Regions from separate parts of the Homo sapiens genome. Here all the other regions are linked to region 3. Evidence: promoter capture Hi-C in human tissues and cell types (Jung and others, 2019). All regions are on one chromosome and are shown on one strand. Each heading gives the region's core, a stretch centred on a gene start or on the middle of the fragment in contact. The rest is flanking DNA. Distances are from core to core; before and after follow the strand shown. Region 1 has its middle 39 kb from the start of IYD. Region 2 overlaps AKAP12 (A-kinase anchoring protein 12). Region 3 holds the start of MTHFD1L (methylenetetrahydrofolate dehydrogenase (NADP+ dependent) 1 like). Region 4 overlaps PLEKHG1 (pleckstrin homology and RhoGEF domain containing G1).

Region 1 (2,998 bases), core at 26-2,525, 460 kb before region 3:
GAGAAGTCAAATTTCAGCTTTTCTAGATCTTGCCAAATTGTTCTTCAAAGGTTTTCCCCCTCCCCCTGATTTTTAAAAACTCATTTACTGAGTAACTCCCATAATGCAATCATAAATTCTAAGATGATTTATCAATCATGCTCCCCTCTCTATTCCTGGTGCCGGTAGCTGCTATGTGAATATTTGTTGAATGGATGAAGAAATGTAGGCTAAGAGGGGTGCTGTGACTTGTCTAGAGTCACAAAACTATCTTAGTGACCAAGCAGGATTTGAGCCCAGGCTGCTGACTCCCTAAGAGGAAGTGGTTATTGTAAAGACAATTCCCCAAGCTGTGATTGCAAAGGTCCTGTCTCCAGGAGAAAGTCTTACACAATTTCACACTGAATAACTGGGACCCTTCACACAGTGCTTGAGCTGGTGTGGGCCAGACATGCTCCCAGTGCAGATGGGAGTTGCAGTTCTGGAAGATTCTTCAGCAGATGCAGATTTGAACCTCAGAGCGCAGGAATTGAGTCTCTGTGGTGATGGAGTTGAAGTAGCAGGAGGACCCCAGCAGGGTGGGGAATGGCAGGGTAAGTGGGTCACTCAACTGACCCTCAGAGGTTTTCTGTACAAAGCCCTGAGATCATGTCCACCTTAAATTTAAAAAGCAAAGAAGGAAGCACAAAGAGATCTTCTCTCTAACTCACCCATTGTCCTTGGAGAACAGCCCTGGAGATTGCTTTGAGCAGAGTTGGAAGGCCCCATGGGGACAGCGCAGATACATGCACAAGCTTGGACACCGTTGGTTTGGGGTCTTCAGTTTGTGTTTATTCTGGCCCTTCCTTCTAGCCAATTTGCATTTGGTTTTCATTCCACACTGTCTTGGATCCAGCCTGGAATGTATAAATCACTTAACTAGCAAGCAAACATCAGGGCCACCAGAGGATGGAAAAGAAAACCCCCAAAGTGGGTTTGAAGAAGGACAACTGGATAAAGGTGAAGAGGGAGAGAATGGGCGGGCAGGAGGCAGAGAGAAGCTGAGGACGTGAGCTGTGATTGTGCCTCCTCGTCTCCTAAGGATCAGCTCAGCCAACTGGGGTACCTGGAGAGAGAGGCAGAGAGGAGAAGCTATAAGGAGCATGTGTGCAGAAGGAGTATAAAATAGAACAAGCCCATGAACCTAGCTTCAGGGAAACTGACCATCACTCAGAGTGTCTGCTTCCCACCAGGGGGTTCCATTGAATCAACTTGAACCTTCTGTATGCCCGTTGGGCCCCCGGCTTGCCCTTCTTGCTCAGATCAAGAATCCCCTTCCATGTCTTTCTCCCAGATTTACGTCCCCATCCTTGAAGGCCAAGCGTTATGTCACTTTGTCAAAGCTTCCCTGGATTCTCCCATCAGACTTCAGCAGGGAAAGAGGAAGGCTGAGCTCATCTCTTTCCTCTGAGCATCTTGGGCTCCCTGCCTATGACGCTGGCTGCCCTTCTCCTTGGACCAAGCCTTCTGCTAGACTCTCAGCTCTCAGAGAGCAGAGACCAGTCTACCTCAACTCTGTGTCCTGGGGCTCCTGGGGGCCATGGTAGGTATCAGCTGGTAAGGTTGTCATTGCAGAGAATCCTTGCAATTTGAATGACACCACTGGATGGTTACAAGCCTTCAAAAGCTTTTCTGCATTTTTGCTGGAGAACTCTTGGGAAAAAAGAGTGCCTGAATCTCTCTGATTTAGTAGCTGGATGAACCAGTTACAACACAACCCACGTAATTACAGGGAGTGTTGTGGGGTGGGGGGGATGTGAGGAGTTTGGGGCAGCAGGAAGAGGTTACGCTTAGTGTGACCTCTTTACTCTTTGGCGCCCTGTGTTCGTAACATAGTTTTGGTCACGGACTGGTAGCATTGAGCTGACTAAACATTATGCTTTTGTGAAATTCTGGACTGGAAAACGAATTGAAAGGCTATTTCTAAGCCCATCTTCTGCTCTTGGAAGGAATAAATGCACCCCACGCTGCTGCACTCTAAGAGATTACAGGGCCGCTCAGACAAGATCTGGCCAGGTAGAGAGATACCATGCTAATTATTTTCAGAAGGGGAATTTAAAACAAGGAATTGATTGCACTGTGGGGAGAGTGAGGCAAGAGTGATTAGCCCTGACCCCTCCTACCCAGCACTAGAGGGACGGGGCTGGAGGGGCCTCACTAGAGCCCAAGGTCTGGGAGCACCTGGAGGAAGGTGGAACCATAGACAGCTTGCCAAGAAGGGCTGGTGCCAGGGCAATGCAGCCACAGCCAACAACGCCGCCCGAGGCAGAGGCGGAGGAGGCATACCTTAAGTTTTCTCTTCCTCCCACCAGTGCTTCCCATTGACTGAATTAACCCCGTTCCCTCCTTTCCTTTTTTCCCTTCTTTCTTTCTCTGTCTTTGTTTTAAGAAAAACTTTTTTTTAAGAGAAGGGAACATTTTTCTAGAGCTCACCAGTATCTCTAGAAAAGAGAGTAGCACATTTACAATAAAGAAGTAAAAAAGAGAGTGCCCTTGCAGCCCTGACTGCAACGAGGAATGATGTCTTTTCCTCCCGGATTTCAAAGCACCCATGTGAACTGCAGACGAATGAACCCATCTCACTGGAGGTGCGGTGGGACACTGGCACACAGTGACTAGTGGGTAGGAGCATGGGCCCTGGAGCCAGACAACTTGGCCCTACTCCTAAATGGTGATCTTGGGCAAGTGTTTCAACACCTCCATCGAAGATCTACATCTACAAGTAGACAGGGGAAAGTGATCACAATAGTCCCTACTTCATGGAATCAGTGTAAGGATTATGAAGTTAATACATTTAGGGATCTTAGAACAGCACTTGGCAAACAATATGAGGACTGTGATTTTGAAAAGATTCCTAAATGGTCCTGTGTACTCAGCCGTCTTCCAGCAAGGCTCCTCAGAATAGAAAACCTGCTTTGGCATGCCTCCATGGGGCAGTATTTGGACTTAGGGATCAAATATCATCAATTTTTAGCTTTTA
Region 2 (2,795 bases), core at 214-2,713, 380 kb after region 3:
TTCACTAAGTGCCCTTATCTGAACAGACATTACACTGGTTGAATTATCACTTGTATTAGGTCAAATGGAGAGTTAAACAAGCTTTTGATTACTCAGGCTTAACGTTTAGATGCACTAAAGCAGAAGTCTTGGTTTTATCTATGGTTCATTTCTGTAAAATGGAAGGAGTCTTTATCTTCTATTCAATCTTTTGTAATCTTTATTTTTTCCGTTAGATCCAGAGATAGACTGGAAATCTTTTACAGTCTTTATATGTAAGATCCAGGCGGGGGCAGGGGGAATGGCTTGGTCTGTTATCTGCCAGGGTTTAATTTTGAGACATGGCCGTTTCACAACTGCAGGGTGCGGGAAGATTAGATGACCTGAATGCTGGTGGTAAGTAAAGCCTCACACTTCACATTATTCCTTAATTGTCTGTTTTTAAAAATTTGTCTTAAAAAAATATTAAGGTGGCAACATATTCAGGTGGCAACAGAGGGTGGGGTGACCAGTGACAAACTGACTTCCATGTCTCTGGCTAATCTTGATTTCTGGAGCCAGGCTCCAGACTAAGTCTGGACAATCAATTAATTAGCCTTTCTATATGTATTGCCTGATGAATGATTTCAATGCTGGACATTGAACAATGGTCTGTTGCAACAGGGTGAGGCCATTGTCTCTGGCAGGTGGGGAGATGGGGGCTCTTGTTAGCTCCATTTGATTACAAGAGCCTTGAATCACCAAAACATAAAGATGTACTCGAATAGAAGAGTCCGTTGTCTGACTGGTAAATTTAAGGATGTGTTTGACCCTCGTGCATTAAAACAGACAATTGGCCGGGTGCGGTGGCTCACGCCTGTAATCCCAGCACTTTGGGAGGCTGAGGCAGGCAGATCACAAAGTCAGGAGATCCAGACCATCCTGGCTAACACGGTGAAACCCCATCTCTACTAAAAATACAAAAAATTAGCCAGGCGTGGTGGCGGGCGCCTGTAGTCCCAGCCACTCGGGAGGCTGGGACAGGAGAATGGCGTGAACTCGGGAAGCGGAGTTTGCAATGAGCCGAGTTGGCGCCACTGCACTCCAATCTGGGCAACAGAGCGAGACTCTGTCTCAAAGAAACAAACAAACAAACAAACAAAACCAGACAATTGAGGCGGCCAGCTGCATTTCATAATTCCTCCCATAAGCTTCCTCCTATTTGCCACTTGTTTAGCAATGGAAATGGAGAACGAAGATGGCCTCAAAGTGACTACATCACCAGTGTTACAAAAATGGGCCAGAATTTAAGGCAAGAATTATATGTTTCTTAATAGAGGGATGTTTCTCTGTGTGTGGCTACTTGTATTCCTGTGGATTTTTACCAGATTATAAGAGCTGCTAATTTCTGATCAGAACAGAGACCAAAAATTGGAGATATGGATGTGGGGATGATTCTTTTGGGTACCGATAGACTGCAGGAATCGCAGGGCTTCCTTTAAATCCATTACAGCTTATAGGCTAGTGGATGAATAAGATAAGTGGAGATTTTCTCTTGAAATATTTCCTTCTATGAAGAAAAGGCCTTGAAATGTGCATCCTCTTTGGGTTGACTAATTTCTATGCCTTTACAGCTTTAAGCTGACATTATAAGATTATTCTAGTTTGGATCTTGTAAGATAATTAACAAAATGGAAATAAAATGTTTTGTTTTTAAAAATGCTAATAAATTATTTATTTTCCTTTGTCTTAGTTAGTTTTAATACATATTCAGTGCTTAAAGAACACCAGTGCAGGAAAACTCAAACTAAATGGCATCATCCCCCATCTCTATAATTCTATATGCAGTAGCCATTCATGCGAAGTTAGAAATTAGAATTTATAGCACTAAGCATTCTAAGAAAAATTAAGCCAGTACGTTTATCTCTTGAAAAAAAAAAAAGCAACTAAATTTCCTTGAACCGAATTCTTTTTTTTGGCTCACTGCAACCTTTGCCTCCCAGGTTCAAGCGATTCTCCTGCCTCAGCTTTCCGAGTCGCTGGGATTACAGGCACCCACCACCACGCCCAGCTAAGTTTCTGTATTTTTAGTAGAGATGGGGTTTCACCATGTTGGCCAGGCTGGTCTCAAACTCCTGACCTCGTGATCCACCCGGCTAAGGCAGGAGAATGGCGTGAACCCGGGAGGTGGAGCTTGCAGGGAGCCGAGATGGCACCACTGCAGTCACCACTGCAGTCCAGCCTGGGCGACAGAGAGAGACTCCGTCTCAAAAAAAAAAAAAAAAAAAATCAAAAGCATGTGTTTACCCTTATTAATGATTTTTATTTAAAGTCATTGCATAGCAATATTCATTTAATGTTTATTTTTTAAAAAAATTAATGATTGAGAACTTAAATTTATAAGTAGGGTAAATTACTCACAAATTTAAGTAAAATTTGAAGCCAATATGATGGCTTCTTACATATTCTTTCGAAAACTTCATGCACATGAAAGTAGATAAAAATGGCACAGTCTTTTCCATTTAAGAAAAAGATCATATCACATATAGATTTAGGTTTTGGATGTCTTTTCATATCAGGACATAAATAACTGCCCCCATTCTTATTAATTTGGGTGCATAAATTTCCCTTTTGTGGGTTGAAGCCCTGTAACGATTTAACCAATTCCTTGGGTTTATATTTAGATTGTCCTCGTCCATAAGTGTAATTGCTGAATTGCAAGCTTTATATGCATTTAAAAATTTAACCCGGCAAGGTGCGGTGGCTCACGCCTGTAATCCCAGCACTTTGGGAGGCCGAGGCAGGTGAATCACAAGGTCAGGAGTTCGAGACCAGCC
Region 3 (3,228 bases), core at 213-2,712:
AATAACAAAAAATAATAAAAAATCATAGAAATAAAAAAGTACAGTGTAATATCTATTTACATAGCATTTACATTGTATTAGGTATTATAAGTACAGCAGGTCCTGGAATAACATCATTTCATCATTTTGCTCAGTGGTTTTCTTATAATGATGAGAAAAAAATAGATTTCTGGCTGGGTCCACTGTCACGTTTTATCCATGTCTGTGTGGATTTTCTCTGTCTTCTGGTGTCCTGTCACATCCCAAAGCCGTGCAGTGCACTTTAGGTAAATTGGTGCATCTACACGATCCGAGTGTGAGTGTGGGTGTGTGTGAGCACACCCTGTGAGGTGCCCTGAGTTGGAATAAGCCGGTAAAAATGATCTCACTTTTATTAATCTTTATTTTTCTCTAAGCGAGAGGGATAGGGGGTGTTTAAAAAAAACTTTTTCTTTGAGACAGAGCTGTGCTCTGTCGCCCAGGCTAGAGTACAGTGACATGATCTCGGCTCACTGCAACCTCTGGCTCCTGGGTTCAAGCGATTCTCCTGCCTCAGCCTCCCGAGTAGCTGAGAATACAGGCACGCGCCACCACACCCAGCCAATTTTCTGTATTTTTAGTAGAGATGGGGTTTCGCCATGTTGGCCAAGCTGGTCTTGAACTTCTGGCCTCACGTGATCTGCCCACCTCAGCCTCCCAAAGTGTTGGGATTATAGGCGTGAGCTAAAAATCTTCCTTAAATATATGCATGGCTCACACTTATTTCAATGTTTAATATTAGAAGTGTTTTGGTCTTTATTTCGAAGTTTAGGGGCGATTTTGTGACCACAGATATGTTGTAGGAACTTCACTCATATCAATTAGCCTGTGGTCAAACTGTTTTCCTTACAGTCATTTGGCTTAAAGTTTCAGTTTCCAAGAACCCCTCCACGATGTTAGGTGAGGACTTAGGGAATGTGGAGATGACCTAAAGTTTATGATGGGAAGATGTGTGTAGGTGATATGCAAACACTTTTTTTTTTTTTTTTTTTTACCAAGGACTTGAGCATTTGTGGACGTGGGTCCCCTGGAGGGGCCCTGGAACCAATCAGGACTATAAAATCCTTTTAAGGTTTTAAGAAGAGCATTGTTATCTCTGTGGTACTGACGAAGACCCCGCAAGCTCACCGAGATTAAGTGCCCCTGCCTAAGGTTACAAAGCCTCTTATCCTCAGGCCACCTCCAGTACAGCAAATCCAAGCCCTCCCGTCTAAACTTGGCGCCCTGAGTACCAAGGGTCACCTCGGCCTTTCAGGCTGAAGGGAGGGAGGCTGAGTCTCAGGGCAGAGTCTGAGTCCCACTCCGCACCCCACCCTCTGTCTGGTACAGCTTACCAAACCAAAGTGCCCAAAGCCGTGACATCCCGGCCGGCGGCTCGCAGGCCCCCGCCCTCCGCACGTCACGGCCGCCGGGTGCAGTGCCCCCTAGGGGCCCCTGGGACGAGGAGGAAGCGCCAGGTCCTTCCCGCCGCCGCCGCCGCCGCCGCCGCCTGCTCCCCTGGCACGCGCCCCGCCGCCCTCGGCAGCCGCAGCTCCGTGTCCCCTGAGAACCAGCCGTCCCGCGCCATGGGCACGCGTCTGCCGCTCGTCCTGCGCCAGCTCCGCCGCCCGCCCCAGCCCCCGGGCCCTCCGCGCCGCCTCCGTGTGCCCTGTCGCGCTAGCAGCGGCGGCGGCGGAGGCGGCGGCGGTGGCCGGGAGGGCCTGCTTGGACAGCGGCGGCCGCAGGATGGCCAGGCCCGGAGCAGCTGCAGCCCCGGCGGCCGAACGCCCGCGGCGCGGGACTCCATCGTCAGGTGAGTGTCGGGTCTGGCCCTGGCCCAGGTCTCCAGCGGCTGTGGCCCCGACCCAGGGGCGGAGCGCCCGGGACCGCCGTGGGGAGCGGGGCGCGGGGCTGCGAGTGTTTGGTGCCAACTCATTAGGGGGGCCGGGCGGTGTGTCGGGAAACGCGGGCTTGGGCACTGCGGCCGGGAGCGCTGGCGGAGAACGGGGGATCCAGTACCCGACCGGGCCCGCAGCGCAGGTGGGCGTGGGCATCTCCAATGGGCGCCTAGCGGCATGGACCGCACGCCCGGCTCCACGTGCGCAGCCGGCCGCCGGCTCTGATGCAATCGCGCCGGGCGCGACCCAGACGGTAAAGGGGCGGTGCGGCTGGGGCGGAAACCAGGGGAGGGGGCGAGGAGCAGGAGGAGGGCGGGGCTGCGGCTCGGCGCGCCGGCTGGCCCGGGGTTCGGGAAGGGCAAGCGGAGCTCGGGAGAGGCGGGCTCGGGCCCAGCGCCGCCCGCGCGAAGCTCCCTGGTGTTGTGCGCCCTTCCCCGCGCGCGGCCCCTCCTGCTGGGCTGGGGTCTGTGGCTGACGTCCGCTTTTCCCGGAACGGCAAAGGTGGAGCCGGGCCCCCGGGACAGCCGCCGGGGGGAATCCGAGAGGTCTCAGCGCTGGTTTCCAGCTTCGCCGCGCAGCGCCCACGGAGTCCCCGCGCAGCTGGGTTTGCAGGGTTTTCTGCGGGCCCAGAGCGAACTGGGAGCCCCGGGCCCGGCCTTTCCCGTCCCGGTCCCCGCCCCTGGGCTCCAGCCTTCCCCGCCCTCGCCCAGAGGGGCGCACGGGTCTCGGGCCTTGCAGGGCGAGCCCTTCGGGACAACTTGGGGGTGGCAAGAAAGCCCCTTCCGCCTCCCTCGGAACTGGGATTAGGAACGAGTTCCAGGATGCGGTTTCCCCGGCCAGCGGACCACCTCCTCCATTCACATCCTCTTCCCTTTCCTTCTAGCCTTCTTTCTTAGTCATTGCCTGCTTGCCTTTCTCTCTGCCTTTCCTTCCTCCCTCTGCTCTCCCATTTTCCTCCCCACTCCCCTTCTCCCATCTCAGTAAAATACGTTTCCTAGGCTCTTTATTATGTGGCGGATGATTTTAAGGGGCCATTTATTTAGTTTTTCTTGTTCTCTGTCTTCTTTTTCTTTTAGAAATGGAGTCTCGCTTTGTTGCTCAGGCTGGAGTTCAGTGGTGCCATCTCGGCTCAATGCAGCCTCCGCCTCCTGGGCTCAAGCGATTCTCCCGCCTTAGCCTCCAGTGTAACTGGGACCACAGGTGTGCGCTACCATGCCCGGATTATTTTATTTTATTTTCATAGAGACAGAGCACCACTCTGTTACCAGGCTGGTCTGGAACTCCTGGGCGCAAGCCATCATCCCTGCCCCCAAAAGCGCTGGGATTAATTACA
Region 4 (2,934 bases), core at 156-2,655, 260 kb before region 3:
GTTCTCTTCTCTCTCCCCTGCCCCTCTTGAACTGCACTGCCTAAGAAATGTTGGTTGCATGGAGACATATTTTTAATTAAATGTAATGGTTCAGTCTTTAAGAAAAAATTATAGATCGAGACCATCCTGGCTAACACGGTGAAACCCCGTCTCTACTAAAAATACAAAAAATTAGCCGGGCGAGGTGGCGGGCACCTGTAGTCCCAGCTACTCAAAAGGCTGAGGCAGGAGAATGGCGTGAACCCCGGGGGGCGGAGCCTGCAGTGAGCCGAGATCGCGCCACTGCACTCCAACCTGGGCGACAGCGAGACTCCGTCTCAAAAAAAAAAAAAATAAAAAAAAAGAAAAGAAAAAATTATAATCCCTTGTCTCTTTTGACTTAGGAAAAATATGGTTTCTAATGCGAAATGTTGGTGTATTCAGGCAGGGATGGGAAGGAAAACATTTTTTAGACAAAGGGTCTGTAAGCAACCTCATGCTTGTGTGTGGCAAGGCATCTCAGATATTAATGTTTCATCACAGGCTTGCATCAATCTTGCTTGATAAAATTAAAAGCTGATCCCAATCCATTCGGTCATTCAGAGTCACGGGCAGTCTGTGCCAAGTAGAATTTACTGACAGAAGAGTCAGCTTTCAAGTGATTAAGAGATGACTACATCTTCAGCTTTATATTGTCTATGCTGATGAAAAGCAATAAATGCTTTAGCTGAGAAGACAGAAGTATATGGCTAATCACCTAGCGATGGGGCCCAGGTTTGCTGTGGAATACCTGGGCCATAGCGTATCTAATGCTGCAAAACAGCTTCAGGTATGCCTGGGTGATTTCCAGTCCAGTGATTAGGAGTTGACTGTGTATCTAGAATAGTCTTCATGTTTGAGGCTGAGTATCTTTTCAATATGTAAACCTAAGGTTAAAAAAAACAAAAAACAAAACCAAAAACACTTTTTCTGATGAGATACAAGCCAAAGTAAAAATTTCCACATCTAAACATCCTTTGGTAAATATTGAATTACCGTTTGATGGAAAGCTAAATCCTGCTGGATTCGTGGATCCGCAAATCCATAACTCTCCTCTTCTTTTCCCCTCCCTTCGTGGTCCTAGAGGGAAGGCAATTTGAAGAGTGTTAATGGTAGGCTAAGTTTTTTAAAAATTCCATCTACACCCACTTGTAATAACCTGATGGGAGGAGAGTCAGGGCTTTCACTCGGTCTTTAATTAAGAAAGTTGTTTTGGTAAGCTTTAAATACCAGGGTGTTATGGAGGCCTCTTAGCACCAGCACTAGGAAGGGCAAACCCTTTGCCATTATAGCATTTGGCCAAAAGCTAGCAAGCCCATTTATGTATAAGAAGGAAATGTTTTTAAATCATCAAAGAAAAATTTAAGATAAGCATGAGTCTAATAACAGCTAAAACTTTAGTATTCTCATAAGAGGAATTATTAATCCATAAATCATCATAGTATTAAATGAGCTCTAATATTTGAAGTGGTGAATAGATCTAGTTCTCTGGGTCTAGTCACATTGAGCACCAATTTAAATGGCCTGTGACTGTCTAGACATTGAAAAGACACGTAAAGTCCTAGGTGAGGGGATGGCAAGTCTTTTCCTGTAAAAATCCAGGTAGCATTTTAGGCTCCACATGTCTCTGTCATATACTGTTTGATTTGAGATGAGGGTTATTTGTTTACAACCCTTTAAAAATGTAAAAACCAATCTTTGCTCACAGGCCATACAAAAACAGGCTGGATGTAGCCTGCAGCTATAGTTTGCTGGCTCTGTTTTAAATGAACTATTCTGTTTTGTAGTGTCCTTCCGTATTTTCGTTGAGACCCAAGATGACAAGTTTCATTGGCTCTATCTATGTTGACTCATCATAGACGGACTTATAATCAAGATCATTTCGTCACTCGGTTTCCTAGTCACCTTTTTATATTTTATCTTTGCCCTGGGGCTAGAAGTCTCTGTTAAGCATAGCCATCAGTTGACATAGAAATGGCAGTGCCAGACGTCAACATTCTACTTTGAGTTAGATGCTGAATGGGGGAGAGAAGTTGGACTGGATTGGGATAAAGTCCATGGTTGACACAGACCACAGATAACTCCTATGAAATGAGGCCCAAACCTCTGAGCAAGGCACCCACAGCCCTTGTATCTACTCTTCTCCTGATACCTCTTCATGTATACCCTGTGTCCTTGCCATTCAAGTAACTTGCAGAGCCCTGGGTGGGCCGCACTCTCTCTCACCAGTGGTGGGGTCGTTCCACACAAAGTTGAAATATCTGTCTCTTCCCTGCAGCCCTTCCTCATTTATTGGACAGAGATGCCGTCACCTCCATCTCTATGTTTGCACAGGAGTTTATAAATGAAGCATTTAGAGGTCTAGAGAAATGTGGTGATTCCCCATTGGCAAATATTACCTTTCAAAAGTGGGGGAACAGTTGTATTCTTCTTTGTATAATAACTTCATCTTGCCTTACATCTCTAAACCAGCCAGAGAATCAAGCACAAAACAATTCCAGGGCCTTGGATGCGATACACAGTGTAGCAGAGTACATACGTGTATGGGCTTTGAAGTCAGGCTGAGCTGAGCTCTAGTTCTTTGTTTTCCCACTTACCTGCTGCAAGTTCCCCATCTGTAAAGTAGGGAGTAAGAATGACCTTTCAATTATTAGGAATAAATGGGATTTCCCTCTGTAAAGCATTTAGTTCAGAGTCTGACATGTAGTAATTGCTCGATAAATGGTAACTTTTATTCATTCCAGAGCGTTTATTGAGAACCTACTATGCCTAGGATAATTCCTGACCAATACAAGAGAGACAGTTTCCATGGAGATGTGATCGGTAAGGTGGTGGAGACTCAGAGTGATGGATGGGCTCCCTTTGATTGGTGGTCCAGGAAGCCTCTAGGAGGAGGAGGTGGCAACATTTAAACTG

The links. The method cuts DNA at HindIII sites, captures the fragments that hold promoters and counts their contacts. A contact is called where the count stands out against the background at its distance.
Region 1: a fragment that was not itself captured here is called in contact with the fragment with the promoter of MTHFD1L in region 3 in 1 of the 25 tissues and cell types used here (dorsolateral prefrontal cortex).
Region 2: a fragment that was not itself captured here is called in contact with the fragment with the promoter of MTHFD1L in region 3 in 1 of the 25 tissues and cell types used here (mesenchymal stem cells).
Region 4: a contact is called between a fragment that was not itself captured here and the fragment with the promoter of MTHFD1L in region 3, in 1 of the 25 tissues and cell types used here (lymphoblastoid cells).

The regions. Positions count from the first base shown.
Region 1 is chr6:150,406,805-150,409,802 of GRCh38, forward strand. No RefSeq gene overlaps it. Among named protein-coding and RNA genes, the nearest start is that of IYD, 39 kb to the left of the region's middle. The HindIII fragment of the contact is 4,244 bases long and covers 1-2,998 here.
Region 2 is chr6:151,243,430-151,246,224 of GRCh38, forward strand. The region is part of intron 2 of AKAP12 (A-kinase anchoring protein 12); the gene reads left to right. Among named protein-coding and RNA genes, the nearest start is that of AKAP12, 4.9 kb to the left of the region's middle. The HindIII fragment of the contact is 4,236 bases long and covers 1-2,795 here.
Region 3 is chr6:150,864,240-150,867,467 of GRCh38, forward strand. It overlaps MTHFD1L (methylenetetrahydrofolate dehydrogenase (NADP+ dependent) 1 like), which reads left to right and starts at 1,463. Exons shown (of 28, transcript NM_015440.5): 1 at 1,463-1,810. The coding sequence starts at 1,584. RefSeq lists silencers at 1,305-1,534, 1,595-2,004, 2,165-2,364, 2,485-2,634. The HindIII fragment of the contact is 14,014 bases long and covers 1-3,228 here.
Region 4 is chr6:150,602,761-150,605,694 of GRCh38, forward strand. The region is part of intron 1 of PLEKHG1 (pleckstrin homology and RhoGEF domain containing G1); the gene reads left to right. Among named protein-coding and RNA genes, the nearest start is that of PLEKHG1, 4.3 kb to the left of the region's middle. The HindIII fragment of the contact is 3,558 bases long and covers 1-2,934 here.